2 separate regions of the Homo sapiens genome follow, and region 1 is linked to region 2. The links are contacts of gene promoters, found by promoter capture Hi-C in human tissues and cell types (Jung and others, 2019). All regions are on one chromosome and are shown on one strand. The core of a region is centred on a gene start or on the middle of the fragment in contact, and the rest is flanking DNA. Distances in the headings are between cores, read along the strand shown.

Region 1 (4,765 bases), core at 1,667-4,166, 420 kb after region 2:
AAGTCTTGAACTACTCAGAGTCATCCATAAGAGTTGGAATCAACTTTTTCTGGACTTCTGTTCATGTTGATATTTTGACCTCCTCTTATGAATTAAAAGTGTTCTTAATGGTATCTAGAATGGTGAATCCTTTCCAGAAGGTTTTCAGTTTACTTTGCTCAGATCCATTAGAGGAATCACTGTTTATGGCAGCCACAGCCTTATGAAATGTATTCCTTCGATAATAAGACTTGAATGACAAAATTACTCCTTGATCCATGGGCTATAGAATAAATATTGTATTAACAGGCATGAAAAAAACATTAATCTTTTTGTACATCTCCATCAGAGCTCTTTGGTAATCAGGTGCGTTGTCAAAGGAATCTTTTTTTCTGAAGAGTAGGTCTCAACAGTGGGCTTGAAACAGTGAGCTTCCTTGCATCTCTCAGCCTGTAAGCAGATGTGCTGTCATTCAGGCTTTCTTGTTCTATTTATAGAGCATGGGCAGAGTCAATTTAGCATAATTCTTAAGGCCCTAGGATTTTCAGAATAGTATATGAGCCTTGACTTCAACTTAAAATCACCAGCTGCACTGGCCCCCAGTGAGAGAGTTAGCCTGTCCTTTCAAGCTTTGAAGCTAGGCATTGACTTCTCCTCTCTAGCTATGAAAATCCTAGATTGCATCTCCTTCCAGTAGAAGACTATTTCAGCTACATTGAAAATCCGTTGTTTAGTGTAGCCACCTTGATTAATTATCTTAGCTAGATCTTCTGAAAAACTTGCCACAGCTTCTCAATCAGCACCTGTTGCTTCTCCTCTCACGTTCAAGTTATAGGGACAGCTTCTTTCCTTAAACTTCATGAATCAACCTCTTCTAGCTTCAAACTTTTCTTCAGCAGCTTTCTCACCTGTCTCAGCCTTCACAGAATTGAAAAGAGTTAGACTTTACGCTGGATTAGACTTTGGCTTAAGGGAATGTTGTGGCTGGTTTGATCTTCTATCCAGACCACTCAAACTTTCTCCATATCAGCAATAAGGCTGATTTTCTTTCTTATTATTTGTGTGGTCACTGGAGTGGCACTTTTAATTTCCTTCAAAAATTTTTCCTTTGCATTTGTAACTTGGCTGACTGGCGCAAGAGGCCTAGCTTTCGGCCTTGTGTCAGCTTTCAACATGCCTTCCTCACTAAGCTTAGTCATTTCTAGCTCTTGACTTAAAGTGAAAGGCATGCAACTCTTCCTTTCACTTGAACACTTAGAGGTCATTTTAGGATTATTAACTGGCCTAATTTCAATATTGTGGTGTCTCTTAAGATAGGGAGGCCCGGCGAGCTCGGTGGCTCATGCCTGTAATACTAGCACTTTGGGAGGCCGAGGTGGGCATATCACTTGAGGTTAGGAGTTCGAAACCAGCCTGACCAATATGGTGAAACCCCATCTCTACTAAAAATACAAAAAAAAATTAGCCTGCCGTGGTGGTGGGCACCTGTAATCCCAGCTACTCAGGAGGCTGAGGCAGGAGAATTGCTTGAACCCGGGAGACGGAGGTTGCAGTATGCTGAGATCACACCACTGCACTCCAGCCTGGATGACAGAGCGAGACTCCATCTAAAATAAATAAATAAATAAAAGGGTAAGGAGGCCCACGGAGGAGAGGGAGAGAGACAGGGGAGTGGCCAGTGAGCGGAGCAGTCGGTACACATGCAACATCTATTGATTAAACTCACTGTCATTTGCGGGCATGGTTTGTGGGCCCCCAAAACAATTACAATAGTAACACCTAAGATCACTGATCACAGATCACCACAACAGACACAATAATAATGAAAAACTTTGAAAGATTGTGAGAATGACCAAAATGTGCCACAGAGACACAAAATGAGCACATGCTGTTAGAAAAATGGCACCAATAGACTTGTTCAATGCAGGTTGCCACAAAATTTCAATTTGCAGAAAGCAAAATATCTGTGAAGCACAACATCTGTGAAGCACAACAAAAATGAAAAGCAATAAAATGAGTTAAGCCTTTATAAGACACAACTATAGGGAGTTTGGGTTGAATTTGTGATTATTCATAGAAAATTAAGCAAAATGAAAATGTGATAATTATTAACTCCAGGGAAAAGAAAACAGAAAGGGAAATTAATCATAATATTCTGCATAGCTCAACTGTGAATAATATTTATGTCATCAAATAAATACCAGTAACTGAACTAAATAAAATTATGATACAGCTACACAGGGAGAAGGGGGGGATAAAAACTTTATGTTTTGTTGTTGAGGTCATTCCTAAAGTTGAAACAATATAATGTTTAGAGATATTGAGGTAAATAACCAAAAGAATCAGCTAAAACCTGCTTTAAAGTAGCTGCCTTTGGGACATAAAAGCAGATTGGGAACCACTATTTTTCATAACAAGTCTGGTAGAGCTATTTGACTGCAACAATAGCACGTTGCATTATAATAAAAACAGAAACCAAATAAATAAGTGTGTGAAGATACTTGAATTTTATGTGATCTTAGGCAAGTAACTTCATCTCTCTGGACGTCGTTTGTAAAATAAAGAAAAGAATAGTAACTTTTCATTTTGGATGATCTCTGACCCAATAAGTTTAAGTGTTAAGCTACTTTAAGCTACTCAGAAAACAGAGTTCCAATTTCATAATTGGAAGGGATAATATTGTCATGTAGTTGGATCCCTCAGTTTCCAGGAGGAAACACAGAGAATCTAAGTGATTTATTCACAGGTACTGGCTCATTTATGGCTGAGAACGTATTGAGACATGGGTCTCCAGCTCTTGATCCAAATATCTTTTAAAAATGTTACCACAATGACAATAAGAGAGGGCATTTTATCTCTCTTGTGAAAAAGAGAACTAAAACCACATAGAACCACATAAACCCAACTTTTGAAATATTACTACTTCCTGTGCTAAAGCCAGATAAGTGGTTTAATTGAACCTCTCTTCTTCTACCCTTTTCACCTCTCTCTTGATAGAGTTGTGTGCCTGCCTCCTATTGCAGCAAAGGTTTAAGCCAAGAAAGACACATTTTTAATATACAGATGGATACAGAATATCACCAGTATTCATTTCTATTGTATGTCACCAAACCTTCCCTGAGGCCATTAGTAATTTTCCAGACTTATCTCTGCACTCTGAGTTTGCGACTGAATCAATGCTGGGGTTATAACAGAGACACAAAATGAGTACATAAAGCACGAGATGGTTGGAAAACAGTGTTACAGGTGACATTCTGCCCAGAGCACATTCTGTATGCTGTGAACCTCTTCCCTTCCCCCAGTCAATTTGCTATGCTCGCCTGCATGCAAATACAAGAGGGAAATCTAAGAGACCAGTTACTAAGGAGACAAAACAGGTGCTTATGTGAGTCATCCTCTCTGTGGAGGGAATCGGGCAAATTTTCTATGATGGAAGCTTTGGTGATGATTAATTCACTTTTGACATCCACATTTCAATGCAAAAGGGCTTAAGAATTAATTTCAAATTAAACCTTTTCTCCCCCCCTACAACACTCAGAACCAGGATGGAAGAGGTTTAGGCAGCAGACTGTCAGGTAACAGCAGAAAATGATTCACTGCCTTATTATGTGGGCTGGGGTTACAGGAGAATCCCTGCATTCTTCTTAGGGAAGGAATGAGAGAAGCAGAAGCTTCTTCCAAATGAATAGGCAACTCTGCCTCTGGACCAAGAAAAGCTTGGGTGACAAATCAGTCATTTGCTCCAGTAGAAAGAGCTAGAAAAGGGACTGAATGCTGAAGTGATCCTCTCTTGTTGTGCTAAATTCTGCAGAACAGCCAGTCCCATCCAGGCAGTCAGCCCTGATAACATAAAGGACTTGGGGAGCATGAAGGGGAATGATAAAACAAGAGGGAATGTTTAATTTTTTCTTGACCTTCTTTCTGGGAGGCAACAACATGGTAGAAATATCATGGATTTAGCAATCAGACTGATGGTGATTATACCAGCAATGCCACTTAATAGCTCTGAAGTCTTAGACAATGACCGTGGACCCTTCAGAGCATCAGCAATATGTGAATAGTGCCTCCTCACAAGATTGTTGTGAGGACTTGTATACAGTAGGCACCTAAGAAATTTTGGGATTTCCTTTTCTTACCCTATGACCCATAAACACAAGTTTAGATAGAATCACAGAATCTCTGTGCTGAAAGACAGCATTAGTGATCTAACTTGGCCATTCAGAATGCTTGAAGAAATGCTAAAACCCCTAAAGGAAGTACAAAGGTCTTCCAGTTTCTGCTAAAAATTCTCTAGCAAGGGGAATTTCCACTCTAGAAGGAGGTCCTTTTATATTATGATATTAATATATTAGAAAGCCCTTTTCCTATTTGTCTTAATTCAATCCCCTAGAGCCACATAGAACTAGTCTAATCACTTCCATGGCAAACACAATACTTATTTTCTTCTGATGTGATTTCTTCCTTACATGATATACAACTTTCTTACATCATTCTGATTGCTGTTTCTCCAAGAGGTTATGCCAAAGACTGTGCTCTAGCCACCCAAATCATTCATTCTTCTTTTTTTTTTTTTTGTTCTTATGGTTGGGTAGACTCATCTTTAGTAAAGATAGCTGAAATACCTTTCCCAGCCTCCCATGCAGTTAGATATGAGTATATTGTGGGTTACAGTGGAATGTGAGCGGAAATTATGATTGTCAATTCCTGGCCAGCATCTAAAGCAGTAGATAAGTATTCTACATGCCCTTCCTTCATTCTGTCAGTAGTAACCTGGTCACAGTGGTGC
Region 2 (4,558 bases), core at 212-2,711:
TCAATTAGCACTCATATAATGCTAGACTCTAAAGGGTATATGCTAGGTAAAATAAGACATGGTCTCTATCTCCAGGCAATTTATATATTTCTGTGGCAGAGGAGTAAACTACCTAGATAAAACACCAACAGTATATATAATTGGGGGAAATTATGTGGTATAGACAATAATCTTATTAGCCGAACTGACATATGAATACCATTAGTACCCGATAAACATGGTATTCTCAGAAAGTATTTTTAGAATGGAAGATGACTTATTACGGCTGGGAATTATAAAGTGTCATGTTAATCAATAAAGATATTTTTTAAATCTTAAGCCTTGTTAAGTTTGGTTTTAGGTATGACAGAAACTGGAGCAATAAACTCAGATTTTAAACCACTGCTTTTCTAAGGGGAAAAACTATGAAACAAATTATACCTGAGATTTTTGCCGCTGGGCTTCTGCTGGAAAGAGCTCCATCCAGAGGCTGAGCAGAGTGAAAAGGTTGACTTTAGAAAGCCTTGGTATCTGACCTACAAAAGAGACGACAAACACTTTAAACTTTGTTACTAATGGTGAAAAAGGGAGCCAATCTCAATGCCACTTAGGTGCTGCAGCCTAAGCCCAGCTGCTTTCGCAAGAGGCACAGAAAAAGATAGGGGACAAGAGAGTCAGAGGTATCTTAGCAGTAGACGCTTCAGCCTTAGTCGTGGCTACCTCCTTCTCCACTTAAAAAGTTGAGCCTTCTTTCTCCAGCCCTCACCCTGCAGGAAAAAACGGTACAGCTAATACACATAGCTGAGGGGGACAACCCAAAGCAAGCTGTGAAAAGTCTTCGCATCTGACGTCGTCGTGGTGCAAGCTTTTCTTTGGACTGTGATGGGGCGTTGCTAAAAGGAAAGCGATTAGAACACAACCCGAAAAATGCGCTGACCTTCGACGGTAAAGCAGTCGAAATACAGGAAAGCGTCACGTGCGGTTAATTTGGAAATCAAGGCAAAAGCGCCGTTTGGAAATGTTCAGGCTCTTTGACCTCAGAGGCCCCAGCTCTAGGTCCTGTGAGAAGTAGCTAACAGGGGTAAAAAGCGAGACTTCAAAAGCCAGTGCGACCGAGCCGATTGGTCCTGGCGACCGCGGAGGGGACACGCAGAGGGCGGGCAGGAGACATCCAAAAGCAGCAGGGGAGGCAAAGAGGCTCAGACAAGGAATCTGGAGTTCAATGACGGGAGACGCACAGGGCAGAGCGAAAGGTAGGGTGGCGGGAGCAGGGTCCCGGACACTCACCGGTCATGCTGCCAGTCTGGGTGCTGACTGACCGCCCGGCCCTCGCGCTCTCCAGATTTTGCATCTGCCCAGCTTCTTTCATCCCAAACCTAGCGTCCTCTGCTGCCAAGGAAACCTCTCCCAGTCAGACATGATCTCGGCCCTAGCGCCCCCGCCTCTCGCCTCCTCTCAGCAACTGTAAGGCAACGGCCCACTAGGCGCAGCCAGATGACGCCTCAAGCTTGACCGCCACTTCAGGGCTCCTCGTGTGACGTCATAGAGAGGCGGGGCTTTGGCGCCAGAGGGCTGCCCCTCGGCCGGTGACCGAGTTAAGCACCGAGCTGTAAATCGCTTGAGACCTGTATTTGGTTGTTTTGTTGGTTTTGCCAAGTAAGGTCACTTGAGGATTTCTTGGCTCGAGGTCCCAGGTTGCGCAGACTCTGACTGCATCGAGTTGAGAATTTTGGTCAGAATGTTAAAGTGGAAACCTACCCCAGGCTGTCATGGTCAGTGTTTTAGAGAACTTCTTGGGTTGGGGTGTGGAGCTGGGCGGTCCAGGATGTTCTGTCATCAGAGACTGGCGGGTTCTGGGGAACTTGGTGCCATGGAACACAGTAGGGACGTTCTGCTTCTCATCAAGAACATGAAGACATTAAGAGGTGGAATTGTAATGGGGAAAAAGGTGAGAGGAGGCAGTAGGAGTTATTTTGTTTTTAATTTCTAATGTCTAGTTTATTTCCACAAAACATCTGTATCATACCAGTTCTTTGAAATTTGTTCAGACTTGTTTTATGACCTAGATCAGCACTGTCCAGTAGGATTTCCTGTAGTATTCTATATCTGCACTGTCCAATATGGTAGCCACCAGCCACATGTGGCTATTGAGCATCTGAAATGTGGCCAGTACAACCAAGGAACTGCATTTTTAACTTCATTTAGTTTTAATTAATTTACATTTTAAGTAGTGACATGTGGCTATTGGCTACTACTGTATTGGACAACATTACTCTAGACTCTCCTCCTGGAATTCCTATTAGGCATAGGTTAAACCTTCTGAGGTTCTAAATTATTATTTTTAAAATATTGCATCATTTTGTTTCTCTGAGCCACATTCTGGCTAATTTCTTCAGATCTATCTTTCAGCTTGCTATTTATTTCTTTGGCTTGTAGAATTTTTTCTAGTTCGCCTGTTCTGAGGGTAAAGCTCTTCAGGTGATTTGACTATATCCAGAGAACTCCATTCTGCACCTTTCCTGAAGTGTAGACTTTGTTGACAGTGCCTTCATGGCAATTAACACTAAGGTTTAAAGACAGGCCATGGACTAGGAGAAAATATTTGCAAAGCATGTATCCAACAAAGGACTCATATCCAGAATATATAAAGAACCATATAAACTCAGAGTAAGTAAACAGTCCAGTTAGAAAATGGATCAAAGACTTGAATAGTCATTTCACCAAAGAAGATATACAGATGGCAAATAAACATGTAAAACAGTGTTCAGTGTCATTGGCCATTAGGGAAATGTATATTAAAACCACAATGAGATTCTACTACACACCTATTTAAATGGCTAAAATAACAAGTACTGACAGCACTAAATGCTAGTGAGGATGCAGAGCAACCGGATCTCTCAAACATTGCTGGTAGGACTATAAAATGGCATAACCACTCTAGAAAACAGTTTGACAGTTTCTTATAAAGTTGCACATATGCTTATCATATCACCCAGCAATCACACTCCTGGGTATTTATCCTAGACAAACCAAAACTTATGTTCAAACAAAACTCTGTACATGAATGTCATGGTGGCTTTATTTTTAATAGTCAAAAACTGAAAACAGGCCAGGCATGGTGGCTCACACCTGTAATCCCAGCACTTTGGGAGGCCAAGGCGGGCGGATCATGAGGTCAGGAGTTTGAGATCAGCCTGGGCAACATGGCGAAACCCCGTCTCTACTAAAAATACAAAAAATTAGCCAGGCGTGGTGGCATGTACCTGTAGTCCCACCTACTCAGGAGGCTTAGGCAGGAGAATCACTTGAACCCGGGAGGCAGAGGTTGCAGTGAGCCAAGATTGCACCACTGCACTCCAGCCTGGGCGACAGAGTGAGACTCCATCTCAAAAACAAAAAAACAAAAAAACTGTAAACAAGCCAAACAGTCCTTAGTGAATGAATAGAAAGCAAACTGGAGTATATCCATGCCATGGGACACTACTCAGCCATAAAAAGTAATGAGCTATTGATACGTACAACTTGAATGAATCTCAAGGGCATTGTGGTGAGTTTTTAAAAGCCAGTCTTAAAGTGTTGTATACTGTATGATTCCATCTAGATACCATTCTCATAGCCAAAGAAAAATTATAGCATTGAAGAACAAATCCATGATTGCCAAATGTTATGGTTGGGACAAGGGTCTGACTGTTAAGAGGTAACACGACAGAGTTTCTTTGTGTTGACAGTTACTCATATCTATACATGTGATAAAATTCATAGAGCTATACACCAAAAATGCAAAGTGGTACATTCAAAACTAGTAAAACACAAATAAGATCTATACCTGTATTAACAGTATTTTACCAGTATCAGTTTCCTGCTTTTACCAAAGTGCTGTGAATAGGTAAGACATTATTATTGCAGAAGCTGGGTGAAGGGTAACACAGGAACTCTGTATTATTTTTGCAACTTTCTTTAAGTCTTAAACTCTCAAAATAACTATATGTATATATATATACATACACACCTATATATGTTATATGTGTGTTTGTGTGTGTATCTTTAATCCCCAGCAGTCTAGATCTGCCCTGCCCTTCAAACAATCATTAGCTTTATTGCTCATTAACCTCTCTTTGGACTCCTGGTCTCATTCCATTTTCAGTCCTTTAGTATTTCAGAGCAGTTTAAATACTTGGACTATTTCTCTTACTTTCTTGCTAGCTCAGCCATATTTTATCCTGCATTTTTAGGTATTTGTAGCTGAAATATTTTTCAGACTAGGCTAACTTTTCCACAGTATTGGTGGAATAATTGTTCTGCTGCAGAGGAATAAGAGGACTAAAAAGGATTATAAAATGAAATTTTCCCTAAGTGCTGAGAAGTGGACAAGCTCAGAGCAGCTGAGTTCTACAAAGGCCAGTTTAATCAATAAAATGGTTTTTAAATCAATAAACAATTCTATATATCAAGTGGAAGGACCATGGGCTTTGATATGAGAGAGACAAGCTGTATTCACACTCTAAGAACAGAAGTTATTTACCAGTTACTGTATCAGTTGGCTTAGACCCGGCTTGCTGTGGGTAACAAATGTGAACCC

What was found. The method cuts DNA at HindIII sites, captures the fragments that hold promoters and counts their contacts. A contact is called where the count stands out against the background at its distance.
Region 1: a fragment that was not itself captured here is called in contact with the fragment with the promoter of CDADC1 in region 2 in 3 of the 25 tissues and cell types used here (hippocampus, lymphoblastoid cells and spleen).

The regions. Positions count from the first base shown.
Region 1 is chr13:48,827,881-48,832,645 of GRCh38, reverse strand. No RefSeq gene overlaps it. Among named protein-coding and RNA genes, the nearest start is that of FNDC3A, 150 kb to the left of the region's middle. The HindIII fragment of the contact is 4,054 bases long and covers 890-4,765 here.
Region 2 is chr13:49,244,828-49,249,385 of GRCh38, reverse strand. It overlaps CDADC1 (cytidine and dCMP deaminase domain containing 1), which reads right to left and starts at 1,461. Exons shown (of 10, transcript NM_030911.4): 1 at 1,267-1,461; 2 at 421-515. The coding sequence starts at 1,348. LOC105370203 (a long non-coding RNA gene) reads left to right here and starts at 1,546. Exons shown (of 2, transcript NR_135318.1): 1 at 1,546-1,751. RefSeq lists enhancers at 1,339-1,568, 1,038-1,600. The HindIII fragment of the contact is 6,098 bases long and covers 155-4,558 here.